Linked DNA regions of Homo sapiens: all the other regions are linked to region 3. The links are contacts of gene promoters, found by promoter capture Hi-C in blood cells and fetal thymus (Javierre and others, 2016). All regions are on one chromosome and are shown on one strand. The core of a region is centred on a gene start or on the middle of the fragment in contact, and the rest is flanking DNA. Distances in the headings are between cores, read along the strand shown.

Region 1 (4,038 bases), core at 326-2,825, 93 kb before region 3:
TTCCAGTGAGCTTCTGAAAGCCCAAGACAAATGTATCTTTATGAAAAATTGAGACAGACCCAGTAACCAGATCCTCTCATTATTTGCATGTGAAGCCTCTAACTTGTAGTCATGTGATAAACAAATGGAGAAAAATTGGAAATAACCATTAATGAGGGCGGCAGAAATTATAACATTGAGCAAGGGTCAGAAGATTGCAGAGCAGTTACCCATTCTTGGCGCAGAAACCTGAAAGTCAGGATCAAAGAGAATGGCAACGGTGAACACAGATGCCACAGATAAAGACATATCCAAGTTCAAGGTCACCTTCACTTTGGTGGTCTCCGGAATAGAGTGCATCACTGGCATCCTTGGGAGTGGCTTCATCACGGCCATCTATGGGGCTGAGTGGGCCAGGGGCAAAACACTCCCCACTGGTGACCGCATTATGTTGATGCTGAGCTTTTCCAGGCTCTTGCTACAGATTTGGATGATGCTGGAGAACATTTTCAGTCTGCTATTCCGAATTGTTTATAACCAAAACTCAGTGTATATCCTCTTCAAAGTCATCACTGTCTTTCTGAACCATTCCAATCTCTGGTTTGCTGCCTGGCTCAAAGTCTTCTATTGTCTTAGAATTGCAAACTTCAATCATCCTTTGTTCTTCCTGATGAAGAGGAAAATCATAGTGCTGATGCCTTGGCTTCTCAGGCTGTCAGTGTTGGTTTCCTTAAGCTTCAGCTTTCCTCTCTCGAGAGATGTCTTCAATGTGTATGTGAATAGCTCCATTCCTATCCCCTCCTCCAACTCCACGGAGAAGAAGTACTTCTCTGAGACCAATATGGTCAACCTGGTATTTTTCTATAACATGGGGATCTTCGTTCCTCTGATCATGTTCATCCTGGCAGCCACCCTGCTGATCCTCTCTCTCAAGAGACACACCCTACACATGGGAAGCAATGCCACAGGGTCCAGGGACCCCAGCATGAAGGCTCACATAGGGGCCATCAAAGCCACCAGCTACTTTCTCATCCTCTACATTTTCAATGCAATTGCTCTATTTCTTTCCACGTCCAACATCTTTGACACTTACAGTTCCTGGAATATTTTGTGCAAGATCATCATGGCTGCCTACCCTGCCGGCCACTCAGTACAACTGATCTTGGGCAACCCTGGGCTGAGAAGAGCCTGGAAGCGGTTTCAGCACCAAGTTCCTCTTTACCTAAAAGGGCAGACTCTGTGACTGGAACTCACGGAGTTCTGCGGGACCTGGTCCAACCACTTCTGCCTTTGCCTCAGGTAGAACTCTCTCCTCACCCGTCTCTTCTCTCCCAAACCTGCTCTGACACTTCTCAGATAACGTGATCCTTTTATAAATATGAAGCTGAATTTTTAACTTGAGATTCTAAACAGAAGTAACTAAGAAACCTGAAGATGGACTTTGAAAGCTCCTTGAACTATGTTCATTCATATCCTGCCCTGAGATCTCTCCACTTTCTTCTCCTCCTGAGCCTTAAGGAGAGGGTGGCCAGACATATCGGTTTGCCAGGGACAATCTCTGTTTATTGTCTGTTGTCAATTGAGCATCCTTTAATTCTCAAGAATATCATGGTCTGGATGAAGAATTACATGATCATCCTACTTAAGACACCCAACTAACACACAGTTAGGGCTGGTGAAGCAGAGCACAGCACTCAGTCCACGGGGTAGAAGGGAAACCAGAGTGGCTACAGAAAAAGAAGATTCAGGAAAGAAAGGCTGCTGGAAATTATCAAGTGCTGCAGAGTTCCGAGGAAAGTAAAGGGTGAAGAAAAAGGCTCTGGATTTGACTAAAAGGATGCCATGTGTGCCATTAGTGGAGTGATAGGGTGACATCCTGATCCCAGGAGTTCCAGAAGATAATGCCAAAAGGGAGGGGATGGGTAAAAACCAATAGTCTAGAGAGGATGTTTGCAGATAAAGATGAGTTATAGAACGGCAGATGGATATGTGAAGGGTCAGTTCAATGCTTTATTTCTCCAAATGGGAGGGGACAAAGTGAGCAGAGAGGAAAGAAAGAATGCAGGGAAAAGAGTGAAGTGGGCAGGAAGCAGAAAGAGAAAAGGAAGAGGCCAGAGTAAGTAAGCGTCTGTTTTGCTCAGCTCCTGACTCTGTGGCAATGCTAGCGGCACCTGTGCCTCTGGTTTTACCAGTTCTGGGTTACCTTGAAGTAAATAGTGGGGCAAGAGCGGGTTACTTGGGGCAGGCTGCTGGAGAAGAGGAAAAACATTATTCTCCATTGTCATTGTTCAGGATGGTTCCAGCAGCATTGTCTCAAAGAGCTGTTCACAAAACATTGGACACCCTCTCCCCAGATATCTTAGAGCTTGAACGTTAGGAATCTGAAGTTGTCTTTTATTAGGTAAGTTTTAAATCATGATTATTGAGGAAAATGAAAAAAGAATGCTGTGGATCATACCAAGCTTAGGTAGCCCCCAAATGAAAATATGAGGTCAGTAGCAAAGTCTAGTTCTGAGCTCCAGCGCTCTCAAGCACACATTTCAGAGAGAGTTCCTTACATCCATAAACTGCAAAAACCACACACACACACGGCATACACACAGACACATGGCATACACACACACACACACACACACACACACACAGATTCCTTTATAGCTCAGACAGCTTGGGACTTATTTACCTGAAAAGTAAAATATTAATAAAACACACATTTTTGATAGTTTTCTTAAGCTATAGTTATTTATATGACTATTTCAGGCGGTATTTGTTATAGTAAGACAAATTAGATATTGAAGTTTTATTCCAGTCCCTAGAATAGAGAAATATACATTTTCTTCCAAGTTATATATATTGATAAAAGGGTCATGTACCCACTAAGGGTTCTCTGATGCATTACAGAGTTAGAGAGAAAATTGATTTAAAGTTGCCATTATATTAACATGAACCATGTCAAGACCACAAAGTGGATAACTCCATACTTACTATGAAGAAATATCATCTCATTGCTAGCAAGAGCCTAAGGCAGCACATAGCTAACAAAAGCTCCAAGGATGATAACATCCTTATCGATGCACATGTTGGCCTGCCTTCAACGAGATAAAATTCTCTCCAATTCTCTTTCTTCTGTATGTAAAACCCAAGTAAGCACTCAGAAAGACCCAGAATACCTAGTCTTCAAGTTGTCTGGCTTTAGACAGCAATCAGAAGTCCTAAATGAAGACAATAATCGACTCTGCTGGACAAAAGTCTGTAACCAAATGCAAAGCCCGGCTTGCTGTGGTCTCAATATTATTACAGGTTTTCACCTTGCAAACTCTACATCATCTCCCTCGCCCCACAGCCCTGCGGGATGTTGAAAGTGATAGAGTGAAGGATTCCTTTACCCACAAAGTCACTCTGAATATTCATCTAGCATGTGGAGCAGGTAAGGGGACTTTGGTTAGCAATGGATTCCAGTCTGGCAGGCCCAGCCCAGAGGCAGGGTATCTGGCTTCTTTCCTCATACCTGGTCGAGTCCTTGCAAATAAAGGCTAGACTGGCAGCCATGGCCAGTCTAAGGGCTATGACTTTATGGGCACCAGATTGTCCCACAATCCAGTATCATCTTCCCCTTCCAACTACTTCGGTGTCTGCTAAAATTCCACTGTGGTTCTGGCTTTTCTTTGCTTTTATTCTACAGGAAATCTGTTATTCTCTCAGGCATTCTTTACTTGGGGCAGCAGGGAAGAAACATCTATGTAATAAAAAGAAAAGAAACTATAAGTCCAACCAGTCTAAAATGTCTTGTGCTGGGGGAGGGGAGCAGAAACCAAGGGCTAACTAATTATGTCTTGTTGGAGACAGGGCAACTTGTGCATTAGGAAAGATCATGGAAGGAAAGAAAAAAAAGACACCGAGAGAGGAAGCCTTCCCATCTGTCTTACGTTTTCTCCCTCTCCTCTGGAGACAAGGAATATATATATAGTTTTCTTTTTTTTTTTTTTTTGAGACGGAGTCTCGCTCTGTCGCCCAGGCTGGAGTGCAGTGGTGCCATCTTGGCTCACTGCAACCTCCGAC
Region 2 (4,250 bases), core at 661-3,160, 75 kb after region 3:
GGTACCTCAGGGCTGGCTTTCTGCAGGAGCTGCAGTGTGAATGGGACAGTAAGGGTCGAGTGGGAGAGAACACCGTGGCAGGTGTGTGGGAGGCTCCCTTGCTTTGGGAGAGTGACTGGTGAGGCAGGAAATTCCCTTTGATGAGGGCCAGTCATGGTGTCTCACTCTTAGGCCCTTCTGGTGAGCTTCCTTCACCTGGAGATGCAGGGCAGAGAAGTCTGCTTCCTTGCTGCCCAACCTGGCTTATGCGTGCGCACACCGGGGATGAAAGCCCTGGCTAACTCGGCTGGCCCTTTCTGCCCCTTCCAGGCAGTACGCCCCGAGGTGCTCCGTCTGCTCTGAGCCCATCATGCCTGAGCCTGGCCGAGATGAGACTGTGCGAGTGGTCGCCCTGGACAAGAACTTCCACATGAAGTGTTACAAGTGTGAGGTCAGCCATCCCTCTGGACTCCTTGGGCAGGTTCTGACCAGGAGGTGGCGGGAGATGCTGCTTACTAACTGGGAGGTGGAAAGCACCAGCATTCAGGAAACAGGGCTGTGATTTTGAGGGTGGCTCATGGTGGCACCCCATCTGTCCTGCCAGAATGCTTCCTGCCACTGCAGGAAATGGGGCTGTGGGGCTTCTGAGGTCACTTTGAGTCATGGATAAGCCAAGAAATGGGACAAGCCAATAGGAGAGAAGAAGGGCATGGTGTTTTACCGTGGTAGGGGATGGGGAAACAGGAGCTGAGAGAAGAGGTCTTCGAATGGAGGTGAGCCAACCTCTATTTTATTAGGGTGGTGGTGGGCAGGGGAGCAAGCACCTTGGGAGCAGCTCTACCCACTGCTTGCCCTCTTGCAGGAAGGTCCTAGTGGGTGACTGGAAGTAGGATAGGGATGGGGAGTTGGGTGTGGCTGGAAAAAGCGATGACACCAGCTCTGAGCCATGAAGCATCTTTCTAATTCCAAGATGGAGCTGGATGGGGTGGGGTAGGGTGGAGCAGAGCAGGGGCCTTCCGGTCCAGTGCCCCTCACCCTTCCTTCTTCCCAGGACTGCGGGAAGCCCCTGTCGATTGAGGCAGATGACAATGGCTGCTTCCCCCTGGACGGTCACGTGCTCTGTCGGAAGTGCCACACTGCTAGAGCCCAGACCTGAGTGAGGACAGGCCCTCTTCAGACCGCAGTCCATGCCCCATTGTGGACCACCCACACTGAGACCACCTGCCCCCACCTCAGTTATTGTTTTGATGTCTAGCCCCTCCCATTTCCAACCCCTCCCTAGCATCCCAGGTGCCCTGACCCAGGACCCAACATGGTCTAGGGATGCAGGATCCCCGCCCTGGGGTCTGGTCCTCGCCCATCCTGCAGGGATTGCCCACCGTCTTCCAGACACCCCACCTGAGGGGGGCACCAGGTTTAGTGCTGCTGCTTTCACTGCTGCACCCGCGCCCTCGGCCGGCCCCCCGAGCAGCCTTTGTACTCTGCTTGCGGAGGGCTGGGAGACCCTCCAGGACATTCCCACCCTCCCCCATGCTGCCAAGTTGTAGCTATAGCTACAAATAAAAAAAAACCTTGTTTTCCAGAATTCTCAGTAGTCAGCTCTTTTGTAGTGCCTGCAGCCCTCATGGGTGGGATGGAGGCAGAAAATCAGTTCCTGTTTATTTACAAAAATATATATATGTGTATGTATGTATATATATTAACCCCTCAGCTCCCTCCCATGATCATCCTTTTACTTCTACCCCCACCTCCCTTTTAAAACAAAGAGGTTTTCTGGGGTGCAGAGCAGGGTTCTCCTGAAAGTGGGCAGAAGCAGCACCGATAGCCTAGTCTGGCAGGTTGTGGGAAGGGGCGCAGGGAGTGACCATGAGCGACCTTGGCCCCGTCCTTGCTCCTTGCACCCTGATTGGGCATGGGGTGAGAGGAGGGATCAGTCCTTGAATCCCTGAATACTGCAAAGAATGCGCTTCTGGTGCCCGGGCAGTGTGATTCCCATCTGCGTCAGGTCCCTGTGGGCAAGGAAGGGTGGGGGCATGAGTCCGGAGGCTCCACCCCCGCAGCCCTCCCCTGCCCAGACAGCTCCAGCTCCTTACTCAGCGGTCAGCTCCAGCACACACTCCATGGTGTCCAGCCCAGCCGAGTGGAAGTGCAGGATGTAGCGTTTCATGCGTATGGACTCGAGCCACTCAGAGACGGTTCGATATGGGATCCCATCTGAGCCACTCAGGCTGGGCAGGCGAAGAGTCATCCTGTGGGACATGGGCATGTCAGTCACAGCGGGTACATGGGCTGATCTGGTTGGCCTTGGCCTCTGAGCATCAGCAGCCAGCACTGAAGTTCGGTGTCTGGGCACAGAGATCATCTAGACTGTGGATTGACCCCACCATTATCTCTGAGCCCACTTCCTGGCCTGTTTCCTGGTGTGCTCACAACAGTGGACTGGCTGACAGTCCTGCTATGTCGACAGGCCTATAGGAAGGGACTGTCCTGGGAAGCCCCAACAGAAGGGGATCACCAGCCGGTCTCCTGCTGGAGTGGCCGGTTCTGGGCACCTGACTGAGGGCTGGTTAAGACATGGAAGTCTCCTGTCTGAGAGGAAGCTGAAAGTAGGAGAACAGAGGCCTGGCACCTGGGCGTGGTCCTGCCTTTTTCCATAGTGGCTGCTTGAGTTCCGGGAGCAGTCCTTCCTCACCACCTTCAGCTTCGGCTGTTATTCTTGCACTCTGACACCCACAATACAATGAGTGTTCCTGTACTAAAGCTCGCCAGAGCCAAAAACCATTAGCAAAGTAAATCTGCTGGGGGAAAAAATATCCAGCATTCCAGAAAGATTAGCACACGCAGTCTCCAGTGTATGAGGGAGTTGCGCTCCAAAAGATAGTTTCAAAAGTTGGAACTTAGAGCATGTTTTCTCCCAGAAACAAGGTTATATATGGTGGTTGGATACAGAGGCCAGTTGGCCAGGCTGGCTACCCAATAAAGCACTTGAAGAACAGCCTTGCCTGCTTCCCCAACCTGAGCGCTCCCCCACCCCCCCATCAGTTCATTCTCTACACTCAGGCCATATTTTTGGTAAAATGCAGCTCTGACCATGTCCCCCCATCCTGTGGACAGCTTTTAAGAATTGGTTCTCCAGGCCAGGCGAGGTGGCCCACGCCTGTAATCCCAGCACTTTGGGAGGCCGAGGTGGGCGGATCATGAGGTCAGGAGTTCGAGACCAGCTTGGCCAACATGGTGAAACCCCGTTTCTACTAAAAATACAAAAATTAGCCGGGCATGGTGGTATGTGCCTGTAATCCCAGCTACTCAGGAGGCCGAGACAGGAGAATCACTTGAACCCTGGAGGTGGAGGCTGCAGTGAGCTGAGATTGCGCTGCGTTACTCCAGCCTGGGCGACAGAGCAAGACTCCGTCTCGGGGTGGAAAAAAAAACAACAACTCTGCACTCATGGTAAAATCCAAACTTCTCAACAGGGCTGGTCCTCTTTGTGTTGACTGGTTGTCTCTCCAGCCTCATGGCTGCTATTCCTAAACACAATGCCGCAGCCATCCTGCACTATCTGCAACCTACCAGCCCTCAGCTCCCCACAGACTAGCCATGTGATCCAGAAGCCTTCCCAAACCCTGCAAGGCTGCTGCTACCTACCCCACCCCAGCCTGGCTGCCCAAGCTCCCTGGAGCTTGGGTAATAAGTGCAGCTGTATCTCCAATGTCCAGCAAACAGCTTGCACCAGTAGGTCCTCCAAAACTTCATGAATGGATGACCCTTTCCTTCACATGCAGAAATATTTCTATGGGGAAGGGGATGCATCCCAAGAATGGGCCACAGTACAACACAGTGGGATTGGCAAGGATGGCTCCGGGAGTGTCTTAGGTGAGGCTGCCTGAGAAGAGAAAAGATGGGCCCCCCACCCCCAAGCCCAGGTGAAGTGAGGGAACTGGGGCCCAGCCATAACTGATTTTCTGCAAATATGCATAATCTAAAGCTGACCTCTTGGACTCTCCCCAAGGGCACGTCTTGCCTCATACACTGGACTTGGTCCAGAGCTCCCCAGGCCCAGCGCTCAAAGAAGATTGGCTGAATGCCCATTTCCACTCTCCTAGCGCTGCCTCTGGGTTCCCTAGTCCTTCCCCTGCATGGTTACCTGGGGTCAAAGTTGGCAATGGTCCGCAGGGAGTGGGGGTTGGCAAGCAGTTGCTCCAGATGTGCCTGAAGCTTCTGGAAGTGTGGCCGGCGGGCACGGTCATATGCCCAGCAGTTCTTCATGAGCT
Region 3 (4,166 bases), core at 251-2,750:
ACAGGCGTGCACCACCACACATGGCTGATTTTTATAATTTTTATAGAGACAGGGTCTCCCCATGTTGCCAGGTTGGTCTCGAACTGCTGGGCTTAAGCATTCCACCCGCCTTGGTCACCCACATTGCTGGGATTATAAGCATGAACCATAATATCCATAGCCATAATAATGGCTATCTCTTGCTTTTTTGATAATAGCCATCCTAACAGGTATGAGGCGATATTGCATTATGATTTTGGTTTCCTGATGATTAATGATGTTGAGGCCCTAGAAAAAGTACTTTTAATGATATTGGCTTCCCTCCTGCTTTGGGTGGTTCCATTTAGCCTAGGTCAAAATCACATTGTAGACCAGATGTTTGGTGTCCCTACCCTGCAGTCCCTGAACTTGGACTGTCCTGGGACAGACCCCACTTGGTAATGCATCCTAAACTTTACTTTGGCTCAGTTCATATCTTTTCTCCTACAGTGAAGAGTTCATAGGGAAGACATGTCATAGGAAAATTGGTTTTATAACGTGATGCCAGGAAGAAAAGTTTGTCCTTGGCCAAAAAAGTATTTATTGACCTGAAAAGGGAAGAATAGCAGAGAGCACTTCCCCATCATCTTTCATGTTTGTCGGGCTTGTCATGAGAAGCCCTCACCCCTTTCCCACCTCTCCCTTCCCTGTGCCTCTTTCTACTTTCGATTCTCCCCTGTTATCTCCCTTGTTATCTATCTGATGGAGCCAGTGTGGGCACTCCACAGTCCAAATGGAAGCTCAGTCCCTCCGGGTTGGCAGTGTGGCTGACACCTAACAGTCTGGGAAGTGGGAGAAATTCTAGAACCCAAGGCTATTACCGACCCTCGACTTCCCACTTCCCATAAGTGTTCCACACCCAGTGAGTGATAAGGATGGGATCAGGGGATGCCCCCAAGCTGTTATTAGCAGCCTCTGGCAGACAGAAGGGCAAAGAGCTAGAGAAGAACGCTGGACATGGGATGGGCTGGCAGAGCTGGCCAGACAGAACCCTGGGTGGACACAGAGTTGGGAACAAGCTGGCCAGGAGATGTGGCAGAGAGGCACCAGTTACTTTCCCAGGTGAGTTAATGTGCCAGTGTTTCCAGAACTTCGAGTCGCTTCATCTTTATCCAGCACCCACCCCTCACCTTCCGCATCCTGAAGAAGAGAGATGGGCAACTGGAGGGCTTCCATGCAGATCCGGCTCTACACATAGGTTTGAGAGCATACTCAGCAGTTTCTCATCCTGGTCCAGGCGATATTTATAGAGGGACCAGTGACATGGAGCTGGAAGCCTACTACTGGTGACTAAGAAGGGGGACAATGCCACTGGCTCAGCAGAGGGAATTCCCTGTGGGGCTGTCCCTCAGGTTCTCATCCCAACCCCCACCCCCACACTGCACTCACACCTGCTTCGACCCCAAGCAGATCAGATGTGGCAGTGGGGGGTCATGTGACGGAGAGGGGTCTATAAATAGCTGGAGGTGGGCATGCTGCCCCAGACGCCTTGGGGACAGCAAGAGCAGAGGCTTAAGGAGCTACACTGGGGGAAGGACAGGGGCAAGCAGGCCAAGGCCTGGCCGGGGCTCGGGGGGAGGGAATATGGAGCAATCCCGGTCACAGCAGCGTGGGGGTGAACAAAGCTGGTGGGGTAGTGACCCCCAGTACCAGTATATGCCCTTTGAACACTGCACCAGCTACGGACTGCCCTCTGAGAATGGGGGCCTCCAGCACAGGCTCCGGAAGGATGCAGGCCCCCGCCACAACGTCCACCCCACACAGGTAAAGTGCTCTAAGGGGAGAGGGGAGCCATGGATGAGGGGAGACAGTGGTGCCAGAGACTGGTGAAAATGAGGAATTGGGTGAAAAGAGGGAGCAGTGTTACATTTTTTTAACTTAAAAAACAAGTACGTGGTGATGTGTTCAAAATATGAAAATCTTTGAAAGTCTGGGCTCACTTAAGTATGCACTTAGAGAGATATGCATGCACTTTCATACAACCTTTACCAACAGAGTACCCAAATCATATGGGGAAACAGCAGAGCCTCACATGCATGAATAGCTCGTGCTTACATAACCTACGTGGAGTGGATTGCGTAGGAGCCCACACTGCAGTGTGCTGGGAGCTGTCTCCCACACCCTCACCCACAGGTAGACACTGCCAGATTTCTGCCTCTGGGACCCTCTGCAGAATACACACAAACATGAATCTTTCTGCAGAAGGCAGAAGAAAGGAATTGGGCAAGTGTAGAAAACAGACTGAATTGCTTATCAGTGATCAAAGATCTACCAACGTCAAAATGAGCAGAGATGTACAAGCTTTTAGGTCGCAAGATGATCAAGTAAGAACCTATTAAGTGTTAGGCACCTGGAAAAGGGCAGAGATGTGATCCCAGCAACAGAAGCATGCAGGCTAATTAGGAGTGTCTATGGATGAGCAGCCTCCCGCTGTGGGATTGGTGGGATATGAACACCTAGGAAAGGGGGAATGGGGATGGGCACAACTAAAGGAAAGGTTGTGAAATTGTCATGGAAAAAGATAGGTCATGGTTAATAAGTAAGTGTGCCTCTCCCTCCAAAGAATGCAGAGAATAACAGAGGATAGAATTTGTCTAGAGGGCAGTTGGCCAGAACTTTTTTTTTTTTTTTTTTTTTTGAGATGGAGTCTCGCTCTGTCTCCCAGGCTGGAGTGCAGTGGTGCTATCTTGGCTCACTGCGACCTCCGCCTCCCGGGTTCAAGCAATTCTCTTTCCTCAGCCTCCTGAGTAGCTGGGATTACAAGCACCTGCCACCATACCTGGCAAATTTTTGTACTTTCAGTAGAGACGGGGTTTTGCCATGTTGGCCAGGCTGTCTCGAACTCCTGACCTCAGGTAATTCACCCGCCTTGGCCTCCCAAAGTGCTGGAATTACAGGTGTTAACCACTGTGCCCAGTCTGGTCAGAACTTAAAAGGCTTTTTTTTCTTTCTTTTTTTTTTTTTTAACAGGGAGCCTTCAGTTCCTTTAGGTTTAAGGCTGGGAAGCTGAGGCATGAGCTATGCAGGGGATCTCAGCACTGGGGGTCAAAAGGATCTGCTCTCAGTCCCTGACCAACCCCCAGGAGTATTTGCAAAGGCAGCGCTAGGGACCCAGTAGGGAAGAGGGACATACAGGTCAGTGTAGGCTGGAATCGAGCATTGGGAAGGTTTCTTGGAGACAGCGGGGTCTGACTAGGCCTTTGAACACTGTGTGGGATCAGCAGGAGGGAAGACCCCTCCCCCTGGCCCTGTGTTCTCACTCGTGTACATGGTTGTATCTGGGTGGGATGGCAACTTGAGTAACAGTGCCATTATGGCACTTCCTGATGACAGTTCTCGTGTTGGGAAGCTATGGTTAGTTTGGGGAGTAGAATTGGCCTGTTTTCTACAGGTCTCAAAAGTAAACAAGAGTTTGGATTAGTTTTTCTTTGTTTAATTTTTATTATGGAAGACTTACACAAAAATGGAATGGTATAGTGAAGCCCCAAGTACCCACCAGTTGTCAATATTTTGTCACTATTGTTCCATCTATTCTTCCCTTCCCCACCCTCACCACTCTACACACCATGGAATACTTTTTTTTTGTTTTTTGTTTTTTGTTTTTTGTTTTTGAGATGGAGTTTCGCTCTTGTTGCCCAGGCTGGAATGCAATGGCGCGATCTCAGCTCACCGCAATCTCCGCCTCCCTGGTTCAAGCAATTCTCCTGCCTCCGCCTCCCAGGTAGCTGAGATTACAGGCATGCGCCACCATGCCTGGCTAATTTTTGTATTTTTAGTAGAGACGAGGTTTCTCCATGTTGGTCAGGCTGGTCTTGATCTCCTGACCTCAGGTAACCTGCCCATCTCAGGCTCCTAAAGTGCTGGGGTTACAGGGGTGAGCCACTGAGCCTTGCTTCCACCTTGGAATACTTTTTAACAAATCCCAGACATTGTATCACTTGTAGACTTGAGTTTTGACTTCTCCCTTGCCCTCCCCTCACCCTGCCCTGCATGGGACCAGCCAGAACAGATCTGGCCCTTTAAGTGTTTTCCCAGCCCAGGTATGATGATATGAAGCAACCCCCTTCCTTGTCTCCACTGGCCTGGGGCCTTGAGGAGCTGAGACAGCCTCAGCTGTCTGACTTCCACTGGGAAGTATGTTCTCTCTC

What was found. Contacts are between HindIII fragments. The CHiCAGO score rates a contact against its expected background, and 5 or more counts as called.
Region 1: a fragment that was not itself captured here is called in contact with the fragment with the promoter of CLCN1 in region 3 in 2 of 17 cell types (M0 macrophages and M2 macrophages); the score reaches 6.8 in M0 macrophages.
Region 2: a fragment that was not itself captured here is called in contact with the fragment with the promoter of CLCN1 in region 3 in 1 of 17 cell types (M0 macrophages); the score reaches 7.6 in M0 macrophages.

Annotation. Positions count from the first base shown.
Region 1 is chr7:143,221,829-143,225,866 of GRCh38, forward strand. TAS2R40 (taste 2 receptor member 40) reads left to right here and starts at 209. Exons shown (of 1, transcript NM_176882.2): 1 at 209-1,251. The coding sequence starts at 251. The coding sequence ends at 1,222. The HindIII fragment of the contact is 1,727 bases long and covers 713-2,439 here.
Region 2 is chr7:143,389,548-143,393,797 of GRCh38, forward strand. It overlaps ZYX (zyxin), which reads left to right. Exons shown (of 10, transcript NM_003461.5): 9 at 310-430; 10 at 1,031-1,564. The coding sequence ends at 1,135. It overlaps EPHA1 (EPH receptor A1), which reads right to left. Exons shown (of 18, transcript NM_005232.5): 16 at 4,124-4,250; 17 at 2,073-2,228; 18 at 1,582-1,988. The coding sequence ends at 1,910. Among named protein-coding and RNA genes, the nearest start is that of MIR6892, 9.0 kb to the left of the region's middle. RefSeq lists enhancers at 2,019-2,619, 3,929-4,223. The HindIII fragment of the contact is 4,564 bases long and covers 1-4,192 here.
Region 3 is chr7:143,314,611-143,318,776 of GRCh38, forward strand. It overlaps CLCN1 (chloride voltage-gated channel 1), which reads left to right and starts at 1,501. Exons shown (of 23, transcript NM_000083.3): 1 at 1,501-1,782. The coding sequence starts at 1,603. The HindIII fragment of the contact is 3,265 bases long and covers 1-2,317 here.